Linked DNA regions of Homo sapiens: all the other regions are linked to region 3. The links are contacts of gene promoters, found by promoter capture Hi-C in blood cells and fetal thymus (Javierre and others, 2016). All regions are on one chromosome and are shown on one strand. Each heading gives the region's core, a stretch centred on a gene start or on the middle of the fragment in contact. The rest is flanking DNA. Distances are from core to core; before and after follow the strand shown.

Region 1 (3,853 bases), core at 233-2,732, 6.6 Mb after region 3:
CATGACACTGCCTCTTGCTACTAATCTATTAACTTTAATAGATTAGTGTATTTATAGACTCAAATTTTTCTGACTTGTAAGTTCAATTTATCACAATGAGCTGCTGGGAGATTAATTACAGTGATTTAATGCAAATGTTAAGAATCCAGGAAAGTCAAACTCATGGTCACACAGAAAGTACAGGAAAAAAGTTTGTCAGCCATTAGACCCTAAGGATGCCTGTTCTTTTCAAGATTTTTTTTTTCTTTCTGAAATGCCCACTAAGTCTGCCATAGGGTCAGAAAGCAATTTTCTTACATGTTTTATAGTTTCTGCATCTAGCCTGGTGCCTGGTACCCAGTGGGCACTCAATAAACATTTAACTCAGGGCAGATCCAATGACCTCAGAAGAATGCTCTTCAATAGACCTTTTGCCTACATTGATTAGTTCTTTTCGGTACTTTTTAAGATTACAAGAGTAAAACCCTAATAAATTCTCATTGTTAAGGATTCAAAACACATAAGTAGACACATCAAAACTTGAAAATCCTGTTACTCACCAACACATGCTTTTCCCCAGGTAACCACCGTCCTCTGATTTGTCTTCCTATGAATTTACATACACGTAGGCACATACGCGTTTGTATAACTTAAAAACATAAATGTAATCACAAATACACATTACTCTGCAACTGTCTTGTGTCGGTTGTTCATGCCATTATAAATATATTTCATCTATTTTAGCAGCTCTTCAGTGATTCGTAGTATGGATGTATTGAGCTTTATGTAATTCACTTGTAATGAACATTTAGATAGTTTCCTATTAAAAACCACGTTGCTATAAATATTCTTGTGCAAATACGTGTATGCATGTAGAATTTTACACCGATCCCGATTCTCCAAAAATCCAAATTGCAGGTGGGATCATTTTAGAATGTACTTCAATAGCGTTCTTCATCCTGCCTCGCGTTTTTAAAAGGACTGAGTGGAGAGCGGGGAAGAGGTCGTAAGATCCCCTGTTAGGGTGTTCATAAAGTAACTTCTCCTCTCGCACAGAACGTCTTGACTAAAAAACAATCCGTACAGAATGTGCGGGAGAGCTGTAGGAACTCCTACGGTGGCGACAGAGAGGGAAACAGGCTTGTTGGAAGAAGCGCCTGGTCAGCGTTATCCTCGAGGATCATGCCTTCCTGTTAATTCCCCACCCCATCAATTCTACCTTTTTAGGTTAGACTGGGGAGTAACTTTCCCAGGTATTAAAAATCGTCTAGAGAGAGCAGGGCGAAATTAGAGTGCCGAAGTGGCTTGAGAAGCACAGTGAATGGTGGCGAAGCCCGAGCCGGGTCGCAAGACGCCCGCTGGCACTGCCGGCGCCATGGCGGCCGCCTTCGGCCACGGCGGAGGACTCGCTTTCCCAGGGGCCCCCGCGGTCGCAGGGGCAACGAGCCCGGCCGGCCCTCGCGAGCGGAGGCGGGGCCGGGGCCGGAAGTCACGTGCTGTGACAGTAGCTGGGGTGAGGCCGTCGTCGCCGCACGGGCTGGTTGGGGCTGTGTCTGTGGGAGGCGCCGGGGTGATGGCGGTGGAGACTCTGTCCCCGGACTGGGAGTTTGACCGCGTTGACGACGGCTCGCAGAGTAAGGGAGCTGCAGGGCGAGGGCTGCGGGTGGACGCTCCTTCGGCCCGCCGCTGTTCTGGGCTGGGCAGCGCTCCTGCGAGAGGGACGGCTGCGCAGCCGTCTGGTGCGGGACACTTCAGAGCCCTTGGGGTGTGCGAGGGACGCGCTCTCCAGCGTTACTTTCGGGGTTGGGGTCCCAGCCACGGCGGGTCAGGCTGCCCGTTCAGGGCTCGGCGTGTGAGGCGGAGACTCTCCTGGGGAGCCTGCGGTGCCCCGCGGGGAGCGGCGTCCCCCTTCAGCTGCCCCGGGGCTTGGGCGGGGCGCGCCCGGGAGGCCCAGCGGCCCCGGGATCCCAGGCTGCTTCTGTCTCTGGCCTCTTGGGGATTTCGCCAGATTCTGAGCGTTCAGCTCTGGAGGACGCTGATGTCTGGGTTCCTGTTTCGGTTTCCTGTTTTTCTTCTTTTCCTCCCAAATCAACTTTTGCAAGTTTGGGTGTCTTTCCCATCGCGTTGCTATAACCGTAGAAGGGAGCGAAAAAAGAACTTTTCACCCTGCGAAAATAAACACGTGAATGTCATTTTATCATTTTCCAGGCCTTTTATTTATGCTAAGTGATATTTTTCAGTGATGTTCTGCAGTTTCCATCGCAGTTATAAAGGCTTCAAAAATTACAGCAAATCTTCAAATTTTGCTTCACAAGATCGAATTGTCTGATTTTAACTTAGAAGTCTATCCCGAAATAAACAAATTGTGTTTCTTTCAGTAAAATATTGAGGCCAAATTAATTGTAGTGAAACTCTACTTGAAATAAATACAAGTTGGCAATCTGCTTCTTATCTTTGGTCATAGTAATCTGTGTAAGTGATCTAAGAGAGATTGGAGCATGCTGTTTGTGATTTTTTTTTTCCCTCATAGTTTTCCCAAAAGGTGGAACGTTGCTTTTAAAAATTCCGGATGAATTTTGCTTGATTTACGAAGAGAGACTAATGCCTACAATGTTAGATGAATTAGGTTTTACAAGTCTCTCAGAGAAGAGTGAGCTACATCCAGGATGGGTTGCAGTTTTTCACAAAACATTCCTGAGGTCAGGAGTTCAAGACCAGCCTGGCTAACATGGTGAAACCCCGTCTCTACTAAAAAATAAATAGCTGGGCTTGGTGGCGAGCGCCTGTAATTCCAGCTACTTGGGAGGCTGAGGCAGGAGAATCGCTTGAACCCGGCAGGCGGAGGTTGCAGTGAGCCGAGATCGCGCCATTGCACTCTAGCCTGGGTGATAATAAGGTATTAGCTCTTATGCAGCATAAAAATTAACCTTGGAGATAATGACAAAATCTTTTAATTTTTTTTTGTGGAGGGGATTCTGTATTGTTATAAAGTGAACTGTACCTTGTCATATATGTTTTATGGACAAAGATGACGAACTGGTATCTTCAAAAAAAATTGGAATAGAGTTATGTTAATTGAGTTTGAAAATGGTTCAGCCTGGAGTAGAATGGTCTGATTCACTCAACAGATATTTTCTACAACCAGTGGCTGTGCTAGATATTAGGGATAAAAAGATAAAACAAGGAGTGCAGTCTGTTGACAAAGATGAGCATGTTAAGTAGGTTTTTGGAATTTTTACTCTTAAAAAATTACCATGTAGTTCTTATCTCAACTTTTGTTATTTTAACTTTCACCAATTTTACAACCGTTTATTGTCAGCAAGGAACTTTTAATGTTATTTTAGGTTTTCTGTTTCCTGTTTGTGAATCCCTGAACATACTAAAGGAGTGATTTATTGGCGTGGTGTTTCTCTAGCATTGTCTTTTTTTTTTTTTTTTTTTTTCGAGACAAGGTCTCACTCTGTCGCCCAGTGCCGTGGCATCGCCACGGCTCACTGCAGCCTCGACCAGCTGAGCTCAGGTGATCTTCCTACCTCAGCCTCCTTAGTAGCTGGCTGATTTTTTCTTTTTAAATTGGGATAGAGACAAGGTTTTGCCATGTTGAACTCCTGGTCTCAAGCGACCCACCGGCCTTGGCCTCCTAAAGTGTTGGGGTGAGCCACCATGCCCGGCCTAGCATTGTCTTTAAGAAGTCATTTGCTGGTCAAATGCAGCTTTGACTGGTCATTTCCTGTGTAGTTGAGAATAAGACAACTATTTGGGGTTCTGAGAATCTGGGCAGTCTTATATGTAAGCTGTAGGGAAGAGAACACCTCCCTGTGCTTGGCGTTCATTAATTTTTGGTCTGTGAATCATATCTAGACTAATTGTTTTC
Region 2 (3,697 bases), core at 1-2,500, 9.0 Mb before region 3:
CCCCACACTTCCATTCCTGTGTCATACGTTCCAAGGTACTGAAAATATTTCTTGCTGACAGCAAACAGTCCTCCAGCCATGGTAGGTGATCTGATGGGGTCAATTCTTGATATCCGCCTGTCCCTTTCCTGTTTGGGGACAGAATGCCACTGAAATGTTAAACGCCAGTCAAACCCACCAATCATGGGCTCCCCTATCTGCATATAGAATTCAAAAGTATTCCAATCAATTGTGTCTATAACAGGACACACAACTGCTGTTTCATCTCTCCCAATCCTTTCCAAAAGCGGTTCCAGCCAACCGGAATTACACTCACAGTGACAATCCAGGAAAGTGAGGACGTCCCCAGTGGCGAAAGTGGCCCCAATCAGACGGGCCCTAACCAGCCCCTCTCGCTTATTGGTCCTAATCAAGCGTACTCTATCAAGATTGCTGATGTAAGTTTCAAGTTGTGTCTTCAAATAAACTCTGTCACTCAAGTCATCCACCAAGATGATCTCTTTCAAAAGAACTGCAGGAGAAGTTTCTAAAACACTGTGAATGGTACGGAGCAAAGTCGACCAGGCTTCGTTATAGAAAGCAATGATAACAGAGGTGGTAGGAAGTGTCCTATAGTTGAACTTCTGGGACTTACACTCATACATTCTTTTATCCTCTATGTGTCGATGCAGGGAAATCCTGTCACTGAGGTAAATATTGATGGCGTATCTCTCAATGAGTTCTTCTTGCTGCTTCAGTTCATCCTCGTTGAGCTGGAGTTTGCTGGCTTTCCCCCACTCCCCAAGTGCACGGGAATCTGCAGGGGGCTTCTTATAAAGCGGTCGAGACAAATCCTCCGTATTTTTCTGGAGGTCTGAGAGCCTTCTTGACCCCAGCTCCCTGGCACGGCCGGCTCCTGCGGAGGCATGAAAAGTAGAGACCAAGAGCTCCACGAAGATATAGGCCACTGTTAAAAACGCCAGCAGCAGGCAGCTCTTGCCTGCCCAAGTCCACCTCACCGCCATCCGGATTCTCAGGGCTGAGGCGCAGACGCGGCCACCAAGCCACCACGCAGGGGAAGGGCGGCGGAACCCACAGCTCGAGCTCAGGTACTTCCCAGCAGGTTCTTCCTTTCATGCAGGCGCTAGGCTCCTTTCCAGCCACCCAGGCTTTCCAGGGGTCACCTGAGCCCTCTCGGTCCTCGGCCTCCGGCACAGCCCAACTCCTCTCTCCCTACTTCCTCCTGCTCGGCTCACAACTTTTCACAAACTCTCCAGCCAACACCCCACCCTCCCCGGGCCGAGGAGAAACCCCTCCCCTTCCCACTCACTCCTCCTGGTGGTTAGTTTGCGAAAGTCGTCCGCCAGGCCCAGACCGCTGGATAGGAGGCTCTTGGCCGGGCCGGGGGCTGGGGGCCGGGATGGCAGAGGGGGCCCTAGCTGCGCCCCGCCGCGCTGGGCCCTCGTCTCCGGGTGCTCTCAACCCTCATACAGGCCCTTAGCCGTTCTCCTAGGGACCCTGCCCGGACAGGAGGAAAGGTTTCCGGCCCATGGAGTTTAGTCTCATTACAAAAGCAAAACAAGAATAAGACTTACCAAGTTGCTTGCCGTTGGGGCTGAGGTCCAAGGAGGTGATCGCAGCTTTGTGGCCTTTGAAATAACGCTCCAGAACGGGGTCCTCCTGGAAAGGAAAGTTGTCAAGTTTTGAAAGCCGCCGCAGACCTCGAATTCTGGCGGCTGGGATCCACGCTGCCACTTCCCCGGAGTCCGGCTTGGGAATGGCCACCCAGGCGGCGGCTTGGCTGGGCGGCGGGGCCGGGCAGCAGCCCACCCACGGGCGCGGCGCCCAGTCCTGCTACAGGGAGACGCCGGCGCCAGCTCTCCCCGCAGAGCCCGCAAAACGCTCTGTTCGCGCTTCCCAGAGTCCAGCGCATCGCAGGAACCGCGGCCCCTTTGAAATGCACGTTCCCGGGCCCCGCCCGCTGGCCCAAGGCAGGCAGGTGCGAGGATGCGCCTCGGCTTTGGTACTTTTTTTTTTTTTAATACTTCCTAGGTGATTCTGACGCAGGCGCTCCACGGAAACCCTCCGAGAATTCTGGGGGCCGTGGGGCCGCCCAGCTCAGTCCGGAGCTCCGGAACTCGGGGAAGAGCGTCCGGGAGCCGGGTCTGGGTTCCGCACTCCGTCCGCCCCGATGGCAGAGAGTGAGATACGGACGCCCCGGGACGAGGGGCTCAGGACCCGGCTACGGACACCTGCCTCCATCTCCCTCCAGGTGCGGCTTCGGCCCGGACCTGGCCCCGCAGCCCGCGGGACAGGCTCCAGGGAGGGACCCCCCCCACCTCCAACCCGTCCTTACCGTGGCTGAGGCCATCGGGGGAGTGGTCGGCCCAAGGCTCCTGTGGGTGGGGGAACCCGGAGAGGGGAGGGGAGAGGATGGGGAAGGAGAGGGGACCGTGCGGCTCCCGGAACCGTCTGCCCAGAGCGGCAGCGCCTCCCGGTCACTACAACAACGGCGGCCCAGTCAAACCCCGCGCTCCAGGCATGGCCAGCCGAGCCCCGAGACACCGCCAGCCCTGTAAAGAGAGGACGGGAGGTATGCGCCGGGTCAGCTGTGGCCACACACCAAGCCATGTTAACTAACACTCGCGTTCTCCCTGGTTTGATGTCAGGAAGTGGGGTAGTAACCAGGACTGGAATAAGAGCGATGAATGGAAGGGCGTTGTGAGCCTGTGATCGATGCGATCAGAGTTCTATTACGTTTTAAAGAGACAGCACCCGTGACGTTTAAGGTGATCCCCTACCGCTTATTTTGTTGACGTAAAGCTTTGACATGAAGAGGGGCAGCTTGCTAGTTATTAATATACTAAAAGGAACTAAATCCCCTGAGGGCAGATTTGAATTTATTTAACCACTGTTTTCCACACAGTGCCCTGCAGGATATTGATATAGTTGCTGGATGTGCGTGATGAATGAATGAGTGAATGAATGAATAAATGTTGTGCATGCACTTAATAATTTTCTGCGATATGTTTCCATTCTCATCTGCTTATTTGCGTATACCTTAGAGCACTAAACTTACACAGCTGGATACTTAAAGTCTTTAGGAAGACTTGGAAACATGGTTTTTTTTGTTTGTTTTTTGTGAGACCACGTTTCTACAGCAGGCTTTGTTACACATAGTATCATTTGTGCTTCAGCCAAACAATGAAGTTGGTAGAATTACAAAATGTTTTCAATGTTTCCAAGTTATAAACTTGATTCCTAGATATTGGTCTTAGAGGTCACACAGAGACAGTTCTTCTAATTCCAAGTCCATATCCTTTTTTTTTTTTTAACCCTGCCTCAAAGCGTGATGTTCTGAGCTGAAAATTACATATAGTGTAAAGATCCTTAGCAACATCAAAGGGCATGATAGAACACAGCTGGTAAGACATGTGTTTTATGCAAATGAAAGGTATGCTACACACCTTAATTACAGATTCCCTAGTTGTCTAGTGATTGAGTTTAATTTTATTGAATATGGTACTTAACAACTAAACAGGTAGGCTTTAGATTACAGTATTAGTTAATTTAAGTATACACTTGTTAAATATCTGTTGTATGTTTGGCCTTGAGGGACACAATGATGACTAAGATATTTCCCCTACCTTCAAGAACTCAGCAATCTAGGGTTGGTGAGTCTCATGCTTTAGCATTTGTAATGTTGATTTGGGGGCTC
Region 3 (3,711 bases), core at 1,119-3,618:
GCAATGAGAAAGTTCAGCTGGAGCATGGTTTAGTCCAAGCAAGGCTGAGATTCTTTCAAGCAAAAAAGGAGACATTGAGATCAGAGAGTTGAAAATGTTTGTAAAAGAGTGATGAAAAGGACTGATCAGGGAATTTAAGTCAGGTGAGTTGCAAAATTATTACATGATGGCAGAAGCAGAAGAGTTGAGTTTTTTTAAGTGTTGGGGTTAATAGCGTGGAGGTCTTAATTAGGTAAGTGAGAGTACCATAAATTAGCTGGGAAAAAAAGGCTAGTGATTGACAATTGGGAAGCTTGAAACTGAGATTTCAACTGATGACAAGGTTCAGAATCTGACTGATACCGAAGTGGTTAAGACGCAAGAGAGGAACAAATTGTTGGAGATGAAGAGGTCAGAGGTCTAAGAGGCCAAGTGTTGGTGTTGCATGGGTCACCTACAAGCATGCTGAATTCAGATAGAATGTAGACAAGAGGGATGGTGAGGAAAACCTACGGCAAGCAGCTCTATAATTTCTGGAAAGTGACCAGGAGGCTCGTGGATGATGGCAGGAAGGAGAGTAGAAAGTGATTTAGCCAGAAGATATGAACTTCAAATATTTTTGAAGCAGAAAAGAGCAGAAATGGTTTGGAAGTAGCAATCAGGACCAAAGAGACCACCCAAACTCAATAGCCCAACCTCTTAGCCTTAGGGTACGCAGAATCTGAAAAGTGTAATCTCAATTTTGGAGCTCTACAGCAGTAAATCTGCAAGTAACCACCTGTAGCTAATGTCCAGGGATTAAAAAAAAGATAATGAAAATGTTTTTGCCCAGGAAACATTAATTTCAGGCGTATCTAGAATGCAGTTCTTGCATTATACGTACTGGGTTACCAGTCATTGCAAAGTCATGGTCCTTTGCCTCTCAGCTCAGTTCCCCTTCTGAAGATAAAAACATTTGCCTATGTGTCCAGGGAAGCTGTGAGGACAAAAAACCAAGCAACTTTTACAAGGGATCATAAAAACCTACCTAACAACTTGCTAATTAAAACCTGATTTTTAATTTGCATTATTGAGCTTAATACCATTGCTTAAATGTATGTGAATACTGAGATTTTTATAAAGGAATTAGTTACCTCTAGGAAAATAATTATCACTAAAAGAAATAATATCGCAATTTGAATAAAAGTAAGTCGCTTAAATCATAGGAAACATTTTTAGTGAAGGCGTTTGTTTTAAATGTATTCTAACCTAGCAATGTAGAAAGCAGGCAAACATTTAAAAAAAATTTAACCAGTTTCTAAAACATAGTTTGGAGCTCAGATTCTGGGGAAATGATTAACACACCCTACATCCAAGGTCTCCTTTCCTTTCTAGAAAGAAAGCATCTTTAAACATACATATTCATCAGAAATACAAATATTTGTCATCAGTGATACTAATTTCCAGGCAAACATTTTAATTGCAGTCAATGTATTAGATTCTACCAGGTTTTAATTTGGATCGGTAATACGGGTTTGATTAGGGTTCTAGGCCTAATTATAGGTCACTAGTCTTCCTTTAGGATTATGCACCATCTGTTATTTTAAATTGACCATTGAGGGGGTTCCCAAGGGTTCTCCTTCGTTTTGTTATCAAACGTTAGGTTTAGGATTCTTGCGGGTGGTGGGATCCAAAGCCAGAGACGGTTTCAACAAAAATGCAAGCGCGAATTTGTCTTGCGTCTGAACGCACTGTTCAAATTAAACAATTTAGACATGCCCCAACTATGACACTAAGAAGTGAATGGTATAGTACACTTTTGTCACAAATTCAAGGGTAATTTAAGTGCCCGATTGTAGAGGTCTGGCTTCCCCTGGGTTTCTGGAACAAAAGAAGCGTTCGCGAGGAGAGGGGTAACTCCCCGCCCTCCCCCTCCCAAAGTAAATCAAATCAAGGAATATGAGTGCCTGCAGACAAGCCTCGCTTCTTTTCTTCCCCTTCAGGGCTAGCGTTTGGGGAAGGCAAGGCTGCGGCTACTCTTGGAGCTTCAGTGTCCCGGGAGGAAGAAAGGCCCAGCCAAGGGTCCTCACACTGGCGTGGAATTCGGCGCGTTCGTAGGCGATCGACCCCAGAGACGAAAGCTGCTTCTCAAGCTGGGGGAGGGAGAGGAAACGGCGCACAAAAGCAGTACGACCTGTCCCTTATCGGCGTCTAAGGGGAAGGGTGGAGAAAACGAAAACAGAAGCGGGCCGGGAGCCTCGGCTCCCGCCCCAGCGCCTTTTAAACTGCGTTTCTACCTCCTCTCGCTCAGCGCGGCGGCTAATGGAACCCGCGCGAGCCGTCTCGCCAATCACCGCCGCGCTTCCTCCCGTCGCCCGCCAATGGCGGCGCGCGTTCTTGGGGCGTGGGCGAAGCAGGCTGCTCGCCTCCTGCCTGTAGTGTGTGGGCTGGGGTTGGTGCGAGCTTCCAGCTTGGCCGCAGTTGGTTCGTAGTTCGGCTCTGGGGTCTTTTGTGTCCGGGTCTGGCTTGGCTTTGTGTCCGCGAGTTTTTGTTCCGCTCCGCAGCGCTCTTCCCGGGCAGGAGCCGTGAGGCTCGGAGGCGGCAGCGCGGTCCCCGGCCAGGAGCAAGCGCGCCGGCGTGAGCGGCGGCGGCAAAGGCTGTGGGGAGGGGGCTTCGCAGATCCCCGAGATGCCGGAGTTCCTGGAAGACCCCTCGGTCCTGACAAAAGACAAGTTGAAGAGTGAGTTGGTCGCCAACAATGTGACGCTGCCGGCCGGGGAGCAGCGCAAAGACGTGTACGTCCAGCTCTACCTGCAGCACCTCACGGCTCGCAACCGGCCGCCGCTCCCCGCCGGCACCAACAGCAAGGGGCCCCCGGACTTCTCCAGTGACGAAGAGCGCGAGCCCACCCCGGTCCTCGGCTCTGGGGCCGCCGCCGCGGGCCGGAGCCGAGCAGCCGTCGGCAGGGTAAGGACGCGGGGCCGGGGCTACAAAGGCGGGCGTTTGGCGGTTGCCGCGCGCGCTCGCCGCCGTTTGCAGCCCCTCCCTCCCGGGCGCCCCCTCGGGCCTCCCAGGTGCGGGGCTGTCCCTGCGCCCCCTCGCGTCGCCCCTTCCCCGCGGGGCTGCAGGCGCCGGAGCGGAGAGGCCAGAAGTTGGGGCCGCGGGGTTCGCGTTCTTTGACGTGTGGGTCTGGGAGGTGTGGAGTTGCGTTGGCGGCGGTTGTTTTGCACGCAGTCGACGCCGCTTCCCTGGACCACCAGCCGCCTGCAGCGGGCGTTTAGACGGGGACTTCCGTGCCCTTTCGAAAGCTCTGGAGGGGTGGCCCCAAAATGCTATAGGTTAAGTTCGAGCGTTTTCCCGCTTTATTAACTGAAATGACTCGCAGCAGAGTCTCAGAGCGCTCCCTGGAGGGCAACTGATGACACTCTAATTTCTAACCAAAATTTGAAATGAGGAAATTCCCGCCTTTTTATACTTTTGCGTGTGGAGGGCTTTTTGAACCGTTTATGTTTTCTAGTTTGTTTTAATTTTTCCCAGCAACAGGCCATCTTTTGGCGGAACAGGTTCATGCCGAATTAAAAGGAGCATTTTAAACTATATTTTTAGGCGCCTATTATAATTTTTTAGTTTTTATTTATTTATTTTTTTAGATGGAGTGTCGCACTTGTTGCCCAGGCTGGAGTGCAATGGCGAGATCTCGGCTCACCGCAACCTCCACCTCCCGGGTTCAAGCGATTCTCCTGCCTCAGCCTC

Evidence for each region. The method cuts DNA at HindIII sites, captures the fragments that hold promoters and counts their contacts. A CHiCAGO score of 5 or more calls a contact.
Region 1: the fragment with the promoter of WASHC4 here is called in contact with the fragment with the promoter of TMPO in region 3 in 1 of 17 cell types (neutrophils); the score reaches 5.4 in neutrophils.
Region 2: a contact is called between the fragment with the promoter of GALNT4 here and the fragment with the promoter of TMPO in region 3, in 1 of 17 cell types (naive CD8 T cells). The highest score is 5.3, in naive CD8 T cells.

Annotation. Positions count from the first base shown.
Region 1 is chr12:105,106,249-105,110,101 of GRCh38, forward strand. WASHC4 (WASH complex subunit 4) reads left to right here and starts at 1,483. Exons shown (of 33, transcript NM_015275.3): 1 at 1,483-1,613. The coding sequence starts at 1,553. LOC414300 (a long non-coding RNA gene) reads right to left here and starts at 1,394. Exons shown (of 2, transcript NR_121211.1): 1 at 540-1,394. RefSeq lists silencers at 1,292-1,571, 1,782-2,031 and enhancers at 1,592-1,751, 3,590-3,749. The HindIII fragment of the contact is 7,983 bases long and covers 1-3,853 here.
Region 2 is chr12:89,523,546-89,527,242 of GRCh38, forward strand. It overlaps GALNT4 (polypeptide N-acetylgalactosaminyltransferase 4), which reads right to left and starts at 1,251. Exons shown (of 1, transcript NM_003774.5): 1 at 1-1,251. The coding sequence starts at 1,004. It overlaps POC1B-DUSP6 (POC1B-DUSP6 readthrough), which reads right to left and starts at 2,502. Exons shown (of 11, transcript NR_189589.1): 1 at 2,336-2,502; 2 at 1,575-1,659. POC1B (POC1 centriolar protein B) reads right to left here and starts at 2,502. Exons shown (of 12, transcript NM_172240.3): 1 at 2,336-2,502; 2 at 1,575-1,659. The coding sequence starts at 2,350. POC1B-GALNT4 (POC1B-GALNT4 readthrough) reads right to left here and starts at 2,717. Exons shown (of 3, transcript NM_001199782.1): 1 at 2,336-2,717; 2 at 1,575-1,659; 3 at 1-128. The coding sequence starts at 2,610. It also overlaps POC1B-AS1. RefSeq lists an enhancer at 968-1,177 and silencers at 1,268-1,647, 2,198-2,457. The HindIII fragment of the contact is 3,011 bases long and covers 1-2,800 here.
Region 3 is chr12:98,513,222-98,516,932 of GRCh38, forward strand. It overlaps TMPO (thymopoietin), which reads left to right and starts at 2,369. Exons shown (of 9, transcript NM_001032283.3): 1 at 2,369-2,925. The coding sequence starts at 2,647. TMPO-AS1 (TMPO antisense RNA 1) reads right to left here and starts at 3,005. Exons shown (of 2, transcript NR_027157.1): 1 at 2,770-3,005; 2 at 1-2,676. RefSeq lists enhancers at 1,989-2,068, 2,329-2,518 and a silencer at 2,859-3,128. The HindIII fragment of the contact is 4,246 bases long and covers 291-3,711 here.